Linked DNA regions of Homo sapiens: all the other regions are linked to region 1. Evidence: promoter capture Hi-C in 16 types of primary human blood cells and fetal thymus (Javierre and others, 2016). All regions are on one chromosome and are shown on one strand. Each heading gives the region's core, a stretch centred on a gene start or on the middle of the fragment in contact. The rest is flanking DNA. Distances are from core to core; before and after follow the strand shown.

What was found. The method cuts DNA at HindIII sites, captures the fragments that hold promoters and counts their contacts. A CHiCAGO score of 5 or more calls a contact.
Region 2: a fragment that was not itself captured here is called in contact with the fragment with the promoter of MGST1 in region 1 in 1 of 17 cell types (megakaryocytes); the score reaches 6.5 in megakaryocytes.
Region 3: a contact is called between a fragment that was not itself captured here and the fragment with the promoter of MGST1 in region 1, in 1 of 17 cell types (M1 macrophages). The highest score is 5.3, in M1 macrophages.

The regions. Positions count from the first base shown.
Region 1 is chr12:16,345,909-16,349,734 of GRCh38, reverse strand. MGST1 (microsomal glutathione S-transferase 1) reads right to left here and starts at 2,090. Exons shown (of 4, transcript NM_020300.5): 1 at 2,025-2,090. RefSeq lists enhancers at 211-1,140, 2,071-3,000. The HindIII fragment of the contact is 2,670 bases long and covers 93-2,762 here.
Region 2 is chr12:15,994,147-15,997,972 of GRCh38, reverse strand. The region is part of intron 6 of DERA (deoxyribose-phosphate aldolase); the gene reads right to left. Among named protein-coding and RNA genes, the nearest start is that of DERA, 85 kb to the right of the region's middle. The HindIII fragment of the contact is 4,111 bases long and covers 1-3,826 here.
Region 3 is chr12:16,016,366-16,020,191 of GRCh38, reverse strand. The region is part of intron 6 of DERA (deoxyribose-phosphate aldolase); the gene reads right to left. Among named protein-coding and RNA genes, the nearest start is that of DERA, 110 kb to the right of the region's middle. RefSeq lists an enhancer at 1,302-2,536. The HindIII fragment of the contact is 593 bases long and covers 1,475-2,067 here.

The sequences.
Region 1 (3,826 bases), core at 841-3,340:
GGACCTGTTAAATGCTGTGTGTTTGGTAAATAAAAAACTTCCGACTTTGGCGCTGTTCTAGGCACTGAGGATTTTAGAATTTTCAAAAAGCTTTTGCATATTTTATCTCGCTTGACCCGAAAAATCCTGAGGTAGAGCAAATAATATTTTTTTCTACCTTTAGTATGTAAGGAAATTAAGGCCCAGAAAAGTAGTGAGTAATATGACCCAAATTCACAGTGGAGAGACCAAGACTGCAACTTAGTTTTCTCAAGTGTTTACCTCTGGGCTACCCACCATCAAGGCTAAGAATTCTCAACAGCTCTGGTCTTCTGGAGGCCTTTCCTTGTCAAATCTCATTCCTGTTTTCTACCCCTCCCCCCAAACCCCCGTACTATCTAGCAGAGAAGAATCTTCACTTCTCAGTTGAGGAACGCCCTTTCCCTTTACAGGCTTTTGGCCAAAATGAGCAAAGTTCTCTTCTCAGGATGAGGTGGCCAGCCTTTCTGCATCAATATTGTGAAACACATGAATAATCTGGGCACGCATCCCCAGGGCCATGACTCTGCAATTTTGTACCTTCTAAAACTAACAAACACTACACATGAGATAAAGAAAAAAGATAATTCGGTGGCCATGTTGCGGATACGTTAATCTGGAACTCTAGATGAATTCTAGCATTTCCTGAAGGCATCGTGGTGGCTGCAGACTCAGCCCACTATGTGGTCTCATGCAAAGTGGGGTTCAGAGCCCAGAGGCTGCAGGTGAAATGCTGGTGCCTCTCGGGAGAGTGGTGGGGTAAGGCCTTTCTCTGTGCTGACCTGACCTCCTTTTCCAATCTCAGGGATTCATAGACACCACTCTAAAACAAAGCGGTAGAAAAATTTTACTCGTCTGCCAGAGAGGGTAATATCCAAATTTGGACTGATTTGCCTTTTTTTTTTTTTTTTTTTTAATTACCAAAGATAATCGCACACATAGCCCTCTTATTTTGGAAACAGCAGAGGACAACAAAGTCCAGTACTATCCTAAGGCCAAGAAAAGCATATGCAAAAGGTAGGTGTAGGCTGGGACTCACAGCAGGCTGGGACCCCAGGAAAACTGGGCTTTAAGGATTGCTCACTGGAGGCCTGGGTGCTATACAGCAATGCTTGCGGGCACCCACTCAGCACTCACTGGGTAAGAAATTAGGGAGAAGAAATAGGGGAATATAAACGTGGAGCTCAGACTGCCACATTTCAAGAGAAGCAGAGAGACTAGAAGATTTACATGCACTCCTCTCTCCTCTGTCCCAAGCCAGCTAGAGCAATATATGACACCTTAATTCCCGAAAAAGAGAGTTCCCTTCTCCTTTTCTCCTTCCACATGGCTTCCTCCTCCAGACTGGGGAAGTGGGGCACAGGTGAGAACCGTCCCAAGGGGCTCACCCTTAGCTCTCTTGTCACTGGCTATAATATCACACAAAAATATTATCATCTAACCCACATCCTCTTGTTTCGATAGCTAGCATTATTAGCAGTAGTATTATTTAGTATTATTTTAAAACTTGCTGATGTTTCTCCTATCAAAGTGAACTCAGAAGAGCAAATCCTGCCTTACAATAGGCATAAAGGCCACTATGCCCATGAAACCTGAGACATCGCAGGCTTTTGCACTCTTGGGGAGAACAGCAGTCGTTCAAACTACAGGCATTTCCTCCATTACTACACGTGCCTTTTCCTCCTTCCCCAGAGTTCAAGGGACCCTTTCAAACAGGAGGTTACTTTGACTTGAAAAGGCTAAGTTTGGAAATCATCACTCAAGCATGAAAAGACTCTCTCGTTTCATTCCTGGAGTTTGAGAAATGGGAAAACTTACCCGCACGGGGACAGAAATACAATTCCCTTTCAAAAGCGATCGATTGAAAAGCTAAGTTTAGCTGCTAAGTGGAGCCAAGCACTTCCAGCTGGCAGAGACCCCCCCAAGTCTTCCATCTGCCACCCACCCTGGCCCTCCCTGCCTGCCACCCTTTGCATGCGGTCCCCTTCTCCCCTCCCAGTACGCACGGTGAGGCCGAGGAGGAGGAAGCAGCAAGCCTGTCCCGCCGCCGGGTCGCGCGCAATGCAGGGACTGTGGCCGCGCGGGCCGGACGCAGGCACCGCCCCTCTCCAGTTAATCTCCTGTTAATTAGCCCTCCCACGTTTAAAGCCCGACCCCAACCTCGCCAAACCCCTCCTCTAAATCACCTGATTTACCCGCCCACAGTAACCATCGCCTGCTGATTCCCTTTGAGCCCTTCTATTTGGCGCCCTTAGAAACTCTGGTTCCTGAAATGCCAACTCCCCTAATCAGTGGGAAGGGGGACAGTAGCCATTGTCTAGGAACTCTGAATTCTCGAACATTTCAGGATCAGCAGAGTTTTGGAAGTTGTTTTTAAAAACTTCGCAGAAAGTTAAAATCTCCAGGGTAGAACTAATTAGCAGGCATTGACAATATTACCTTCCCTTAGACTTCACCTCCCCTGCGCTGGTGGCAAGGCCTCCTTAAAAGGCTGACAATGACAGAATGTAACCCTCAGTAAAGATCACTTACGGTGTTCCAAATTCATGATACCAGACAATTTGCTTTGTCACGATGTCCCCTCCTGTTCAGGGTCCAGAATGAAATTGGAGGCAATTGTACTGGATCAGCTCATTACACAATCAGCTTAGTGTGTTTTTTACAGGGAGGTTTAGAGGAACGTTTACGGAAGCCGTAGATATTTAGCCTACCATCACTATCTAGATTAGGGATACTTCCAAGCTTCCTAGTCCCCATAGTCCCCACAATATTTATGGATCTATCTTTCATGGGTTTATATGAGAAATGTTTAAGGATTTCTGTTTTCAATCTATATTATTTCTCTCCTAGTGCTATATCTCAGACACTCACCACCTGTTGCAAGGTCTACTTCCTTTTTTTGCTCTTAATTTACTCCTTTAGGCTTTAAAGGATATCCCTAGGACTAACTTTCTAGGATGTGATGGACAAGTTCATGTTCTATTAAAGAAAGAAATAACTACCAGTTTGCTCTAGGAACAGAAATTAATCCAAGGAAGGTCTGAGAATGATTTCTATATAAGCATAACAGTAGGAGTTTTGGAAAATCTAGCATCAGAAGGCATCTGTTCTTCACTTTTATGTCTGTATCTTTTCAAAACTCTACTTATTCACCTATCTTTGTAAAGTATACTAGAATCTGTCTGTAACATTAACTGGAATAGGATAGAATTTGAGATGACATAAATCTATTCTGAATTCTCTCCAAAGGAGTTTGGTATTATAAGAATTTAAGACTCTCTTCATTTATTATAAGGTGATACAGGCCAAATCTTATGGATAACATGGCAGAAAAAGGAAGAGGAGAGCTACTGTTTAGATAATTTGGTCTACAGAATGCTAGTTGAATGGTTCTAACATTTTTTTTTTTTTTTTTTTGAGACGGAGTCTGCCTGTGTAGCCCAGGCTGGAGTGCAGTGGCGCGATCTCAGCTCACTGCAAGCTCCGCCTCCCGAGTTCACACCGTTATCCTGCCTCAGCATCCCAAGTAGCTGGGATCACAGGCACCTGCCATCACGCCTGGCTAATTTTTTGTATTTTTAGTAGAGACGGGGTTTCTCTGTGTTAGCCAGGATGGTCTTGATCTCCTGACCTCGTGATCCACCTGCCTCAGCCTCCCAAAGTGTTGGGATTACAGGCGTGAGCCACTGCGTCCAGCTGGTTCTAACATTTTTTTAAAAAAGAAAGTAGCACTTGACTCATCTAATGCTCTAAATATAGAATGTGTTCAAACTATTAATTGATCAATGAATAAATACTGAGTTCCTAC
Region 2 (3,826 bases), core at 665-3,164, 350 kb after region 1:
TTTGAGGTTAATGGAGCTTCTTTACACTTTATAATCTTTATAGTTTTCTAAGCATTTACAATTTCTCTGAGTTCACTTTCGAATGTTTATTTGCTCTGTTTCTCTTGGCTTATATCTGACAATGTACAAATAATGGGGAAAAGGCAATGAATTTGTAAACACCTTTTAGTGATTTTTGACAAAAGGGGTGACAGGCAAAAGTTCAATTTGAAAAGTATGTTCTCTACATAATTTACTAGCTGCTGGGCAGACTAAACGTTACATATACAATCAATGGATTTTATGGATTTTTTTAGAGCCACGTTAAAATTTAAAAAGAGAAAAAAGTTCCATGCTATATTTCCCTGTCTTTAGATATGTAGTTTCCTCATTCTAACAATGACTCTTTTGCATACGATTCCGTTAAAGTCATGACTGCAGAATAAGCTGATGATTTCAAGAACGCCCCCTAACTCAAGTATTTTTACCGAACACCTTGCTGAGCAATGTAACACGCAGGGCCCTTCATTTCTTTATTCTAGTGATGGCAATGTAACCTTTGTCTTGCTTCAACCAATTTTTCCCTGTTAACATATCTTTCCAAATTAAAAAAAAAATCATTTTTTTCATTCATTTGGCTTATAAAGTAATCCTAGAAGCCTGCAAATATTTTTTTTAAACAGCAAATAAAGAAATATTCACCCATGCGGAGGAAAAGAGAACACAAGAGAATTGCCTGCTCCATTTTATAATATTATGGTACATTGTGTAGTCTTGTGTCAGTATTTATTATCAGTCATTTAGTTTATGATAGAGAATAACTTTTGATTACTGATGCTTGTAGTATTACTCACTCTGTCTTGGACTGTTTGAAGATCTGTATTTTTATTACAAAGTCCAATAAAAATAAAGTGAAAAACCCATAGGTCCCAAAACTGATTCCTGGCTTGTGCTATATGTCACTCCTTTCCAATCTAAAAAGTATTTCCTTCTACTGTTAGTATCTGTCTCTTGCTCATAAGCAAATTTATCTCCTAATGCCTCATTCTTTATTTTAGTCATTAATCTCCCATTGAGAACCTTACCAAATGCTTTTTGCAGATAAAAATATTTAATATCTACTAGATTTCCCCTATCCACAAAACCATTCAACATTGCTGAGAGGGAAAAATCAATCTTTTGTACCTGAATTCAAGTTTGCTGGGTTTGAGTCAAAATATTTTTCTCTAACTTCTTCAGGTCTTCTTGACAGAAAATAATAAGACCATAAAGCAAGAATCCTATTTCTCTTTGCTTTGAATTGTTTCCCCCAAAAAAGAGATGTCAAAATCTCACCCCTCAATACCTCAGGAAGAGACCTTATTTGGAAAGAGGGCCACTGAAGATGTCATTAGTTAAGATAAGGTCATACTGAGTAAGGTGGGCCATTACATTACTGGTTTCCTTATAAGAAGAGGAGAAGAGACACAGACAGAGACACACAGAGGGAAGACAGCCATCTAGTGACAGAGGCAGAGACTGGAGTGAAGCCAAGGTATGTCAAGCATTGCTGGCAAACACCAGAAGCCAGAATAAGCAAGAAGGGCTTGCCTACAGGTTTCAGAGGGAGCATAAGCCTGCTGACACCCTGACTGCGGGCTTCTGGCCTCCAGAACCTTAAGAACACATTTCTGTTGCTTAAGGCCATCTAATTTGCGGTACTCTGTTACAGCGAGCCCAAGAAACTAATACACTCCTCTTTTCCCATGTTTTCTATATTTTGGGGCCCTGTGTATACTGGATTGTAATCTACTCTTAAATTACACACACACACACACACACACACACACACACACATGCTCTGTGTGTGTGTCTGTGTCTGCATATGAAATAATTTTCTCTTCTGCATAGAATCACATTAACTCTGAAAGAGAAGGCATCTCTAATGTTTGCTGAGTCTGTCTTAGTGTAGCTCCATCAGGCTCACTCAGCCTGTGCCTCGAACGTCTCCTACCTCCTGATGTGGCGCACCCAATTTCCAGGTGATTCAGACACTGACGAAATTCTTCCTATAATAACTAGCTCAAAAGCCATCTTCCCACAATGTCTAAAAGTTGGTCCTAGTCCTACTACTTTGAGTTAAGAGAGAAAAATCTTCCTTTATCAGGAAAATCTTCCAAGTATTTGAACATAATATTACAACCCCAAGGATTTTCCTCCTCCTAATTAGATGTCCACTTTCTTTCCAACCACTCTTCATGAGAAGGGTTCAATTTATCTCATCCTGTGCTGTGACTTCCCTCTAAATATTCTGATACCACTTCCATTCTCCCATACCCCTCCATCCTCCCTACTCTATTCCTTCATTTTCAGACTGCCTTCAGCTTTAACATCTCTCCTACTCCTCCATCAGGTGGAAAACAGAAAGATCTGCTTTTCTTGTCACTCCCTAGCTGTTCTCTGGGCACCCTAGGTAAGAGAGTCTGGAAGAAAAGTACAGAACTCAAGTGGCAGTTGTATCACAACCCTGGTTAATTTTCTAAGTGCATCACTACAGGGACATCAACAGAGTAGCTAAACACAAATAACAGTGGAAGCAGCCTGAGAAGAGATCTTTTAGCTCTGGGCACCCTACCTTTTCTTTTCAACAAGGAGTTACTGTGGGCCAATCATAGGCAGGTGGCCCCGGGCTTGCTGTCATTTTTCTCTTTTATATTGATTTCATGTTCACCAACTCCTATAAATTTCTGCAAACACCTTGCCTCTCTATAGAAACACCTTGCCATTATGTCTTCCTTTTCTTGCCCTCAACAGAAAAGTAAAGTGCAACATACAATCTCATTCAGGGCCTCTAGAAACATCTGTGCCTCCAAAAGTTAAACACAGCTTATAAATATTATCTGATATACAGATCAATTGCAGGATAGAGAGCAGGGTTGTGCATTAATAAAAGCATGGAGTTTAGAGTCAAAAGTCCTTCAGAAAATTCTGCCACTTACTCAGTGTGTGGCCTTGGTCTATTCACTTAACTTCTGAGCTTCAGGTTTTCATCTACTAAAAGATGATAATAAGATACCTCTCCTCCCTCCCTCCCTCTTGGGATTACTGCAGAAAGAATTTATAAACTACCAACTTCACATGATTTATTACTCTTTTTTCATTTATTCATTCAATAAATATGCATAATCAAGCATCTACCTGGTACAATATACTGAGGGATCCATTCAAGGATTCCAATTTCCCACCATTTTAAGAATTTTCTGGCCAGGCGCGGTGGCTCACGCCTGTAATCCCAGCACTTTGGGAGGCCGAGGTGGGTGGATCGCGAGGTCAGGAGATCGAGACCATGCTGGCTAACATGGTGAAACCCCGTCTCTACTAAAAATACAAAAAATTAGCCAGGCGTGGTTGCAGGCGCCTGTAGTCCCAGCTATTCAGGAGGCTGAGGCAGGAGAATGGCGTGAACCCGGGAGGCAGAGCTTGCAGTGAGCAGAGATCGCGCCACTGCACTCCAGCCTGGGCGACAGAACGAGACTCCGTCTCAAAAAAAAGAATTTTCTAATAGATCAGTAACCACGTGGCACAGATATTAAGGAATAAATAACCAAGAGTTAATATGCTAGGAATTACAGATAAAGGAATAACAGAATCTCAGACACATGAACACAGGTCTAGCCTCTATGTCATGTGCCAGAATTTCACTTAGAAAATAAAATCCCTTAATGTTTAAAGGGGAAATACAGCTTTATTTAAAAATTGGTTTCTATACAAGTTGATTACAGATATATCATTGATGCCACTGTACTCATATGTGTGATACCTGAATCTATCAGCAAGCATGTACTAGGCATTTACTATGTACCAGTCT
Region 3 (3,826 bases), core at 522-3,021, 330 kb after region 1:
CAGCCTGTGGACTAATACATTGGGTAATTTATAAAGAAAAGAGGTTTAATTGGCTCACAATTCTGCAGACTGTACAGTAAGTGTGGTGCTTGGATCTGCTCCTAGAGAGGCTCCTGGGAGGCTTACAATCACAGCAGAAAGCAAAGAGAGCAGGCATGTCAGATGGCGAGAGTGGGAGTGAGATGCGGGGAGGTGCCATGCTCTTTTAAAAAACCAGATCTCATGTGAGCTCAGAGCAAGAAATCACTCATCACCAAAAGGGATGGTGCTAAAGCCATTCATGAAGGATCTACCTCCATGATCCAATCCCCTCCCACCAGGCCCCATCTCTAACACTGGGAATCACATTTCAACATGTGAGTTGGAAGGGACAAAAATCCAAACTATATCATATGCCCAGTAAGTATTATGATCAATAAGAATTACAAAGGATCAGAGAAATAACTTTAGCTAGAATAATACGGGAAGGCTTCATGGAACAGATGGAATGTGTTACAGACCTTCAAGGAGAGACAAAATTTAAAGATGAGAGGGCACACATGGAAGAACACCACCATAAAAAGAAACACCAAAAGCAAAGAAAGTATATGGCATACCAAATAATGAAAGAATACATCTAAGAAGTCTGTGTTGGAGGTGAGGTGGGAGGAGGGACATATACACAGATATATGAATGTATGTTTTAGAAGATGTGACTGTAAATATCCCTTAGGAAAATATTATAGAGAGCTTTGAACCCACAGACATTGGGCTCTGTTCTTTAGGTAATGTGAGGTCTGATCACATGAAATCAGTGTTTTAAGATGCTAAATTTAGTGTCTGTATTGGATGTGTTGAGAAAGGACAATTGAGAGTCAGAGACCACAAGATATTAAAAATAGTTCAGGCATGCAGACACTGGCTATTTTTTAAGTGAGGAATAAGACCTAGCTTTAATTACACAAAATATTTTAGAAAGTACATCATTACTTTACTGCTGTCAAAAGAAAAATGGATTTTCCAATGGGACTAAGTAGGACACACTTTTGTTTTACTTCTCATTTTAACATTGCTTCCTTTGCCCTTCTGCTAAAACGAAATTACTTTAGAGAAATAAATGCTACATTTTGAATTACCAACACCACACAGCACTACAGACTCTCTTCAGAGCTCACATAAATCTAACATTAGCCAAGCTTACCTCTGCTCAGCTTGGGGACAAAAATCTTATGAGAAAATATCTCAAATTACAATAGCTATCCCTATAAATGTTCTTTCATCAGTGCCCACAATTTCAACTAAATGACTAAACTAAGAGATGAAAGGGCTGAAAAAGTCAAAAGGAACACACTAAGTAGACTAATATTCAACTGTGATTAGTTGAAATTAAAATTAATAATAAATTTATAGTATTATATTAAATTGTATTTTTTATTTTCCTAATTTGAAATCTTTAGCACAATACTATTTTTGTGGTCTAAGGCAACTCAAAGCTTTTCTAAGGACTATAATTACAAGTCTCCATGGTACAGTTTCATTAAAAACTTTCATTAAACAACAGCTGCCCTTGTATATGGTCTTCTAATCAATTTGGTCAAACAGAATGACTTCTAATCAGCTGTTGATAAAAATAGAAGATGAAATTTTAATTCTAATAGATTAACCACAAACTCAAGACAGTCTTCAAAATCCATCTAGCTCTATTCTCCAGTGGATTTAATGACTATTCAGCAACTCATTACTAAATAGAACAAGATGAACATTTTCCAGTTCATTAAAGAAATGTACTATGTATTTTTGCATTGTCCTCATGATTCGTTACAGGGAGTCTTAATTACAAGATAATGGATAATTGTTATTAAATGCAGACTGCAATAATGAAGCTCTATTCATTTGCGAACCTCAGAGACTGCAAAGAGAGGAAAATAAAATTACTAGCTTCAAAAGATTAACGGATCAAATTATTATTCAATTTTGAAAATCTCATTCAGACTTCATAGAAACAAGAAGAGATTAAAAACTAGTATTAAGACCAAAGTAGTATATTTAAAAAAATAATATCTTAAGGCTACTACTGTATAATAAGCTTCGGATGTGATTATTAGAAAAACATATAGCTAACAATGGGAAAACACACATTTTTATTTCTTGAACAAATCTTATTTATGTTATAGGAAGTTACTAGTAAGATCTTAAAAAGAGTCCATGGTGAACAGGGAAGATATATGCTGCTATGCTACAAAAGAACAGCACAGTGGAAGGTATTATTAACATTTTATACTTCACTAATGAAAAGTAGGATTTCAAATCAACTGCTGCTTGAGAAAGCTTGTCATTAAGTGGAATTCATACCAACCCTATAATAAGAGCTTTTGGGTACATTATTCATTAGCATCATGTTTTCTATTGCTGAGAAATTACCGATTAAAGTTAGAAAGAGAGTTTCGTATGGTAATTCCGACACTAACTTATACTTGCAATCTGCAATGGGACACTTGGAAAAAAATTAAGCAGGGTATGCAAAGATATAAGCCCTCAAATTAAAAGTCTTCAATATTGTATTCTTTTGTTCAACATAGGTTTGGAAATCACTTAGGGCAATATAATAAAGATGCAGTGTTACGGTTGAAGCACTGGCCAGAGTACATATGGAAGCAGAAAGCCCCTCTGGAGGTATCAATGTGATACTAATACTAAATCTGGAGACTGTGATTCCACAAAGACATGCTTACATGATCCAAGGATAATTAGCTACCCATGTGAGAAAGGGGGTAAAGAGAAAGAGAGAAAGAAAAGCATAAGAAGAAAAATGAAAAATTCAAACACCTGCTCTTTCCAGTGCTTTCTTCCAATCTGAATAGTGAGCTACAGAGTAATTCTCTGTCGGTCCAGTCCATCACGTTAGCAATGCAATAGAACACGATAACTAAGCAATGATGCTTGTTTAAGCATAATGGCAGTCAGAAAGAAATCACAATTTTAGGGTTGGAAAATATCTCCAATGCCCCAAAGGAAAGATGATCTTATGATAACCACATTTCTTCCGGATGCCTTCCCCTCAATAAAAATAAAGTTGCAACCATTTAAAATAATGCAAAACAGTATGATTTAAGTGGAATACAAAGTGGGGACTCTGACTGTATAATCCTTGGTTACTGACTAGGAGAAGATTCTGCATAATTATGCAAACCCTTCAAAATACTGGTAGACGCACCTGATCGAAACAAGCACCTGATTGAAACAAAAGTCCTTGAGTATGTCCAGTAAGTCAGATGTTCCCTTTCCTTTTAAAACTTAAGGTGTTCAAAATGAACTGTAGTAATGCCAGAAATAAGTTACTAATCAAAGTACATAACTTCTATTTTTAGAGTGGGTTTAAGTTAATCTTTCTTTCTTTTTTTTTTTTTTTTTTTTTTTTTTTGAGACAGGGTCTCACTCTGTCGCCCAGGCTGGAGTGCAGTGGTGCAATCATGGCTCACTGCAGCCTTGACCTCCTGGGTTCAAGAGATCCTCTTGCCTCAGCCCTCCACGTAGCTGGGAGTACAGGTGCACAGCACCACACCAGCTAATTTTTTTGTAGAGATGGGGTTTTACCATGTTGTCTGGGCTGGTCTCGAACTCCTGAGCTCAAGTAATCTGCCCACCTCGGCCTCTCAAAGTGCTAGAATTACAGGCATGAGCCACCACACCCAACTTGTTTAATCTTTCAAACAACTGTAAGGTTTTGGGTTTTAACGCATTTGGAAAAAAGAAAGGGTTATTTAATTCAAGTGTTTACAAGACCACTTCTCTAATTTTTAATATTGTATTAGTTCTCCTGAGGGTGTTTTTAAATATCTACATAGAG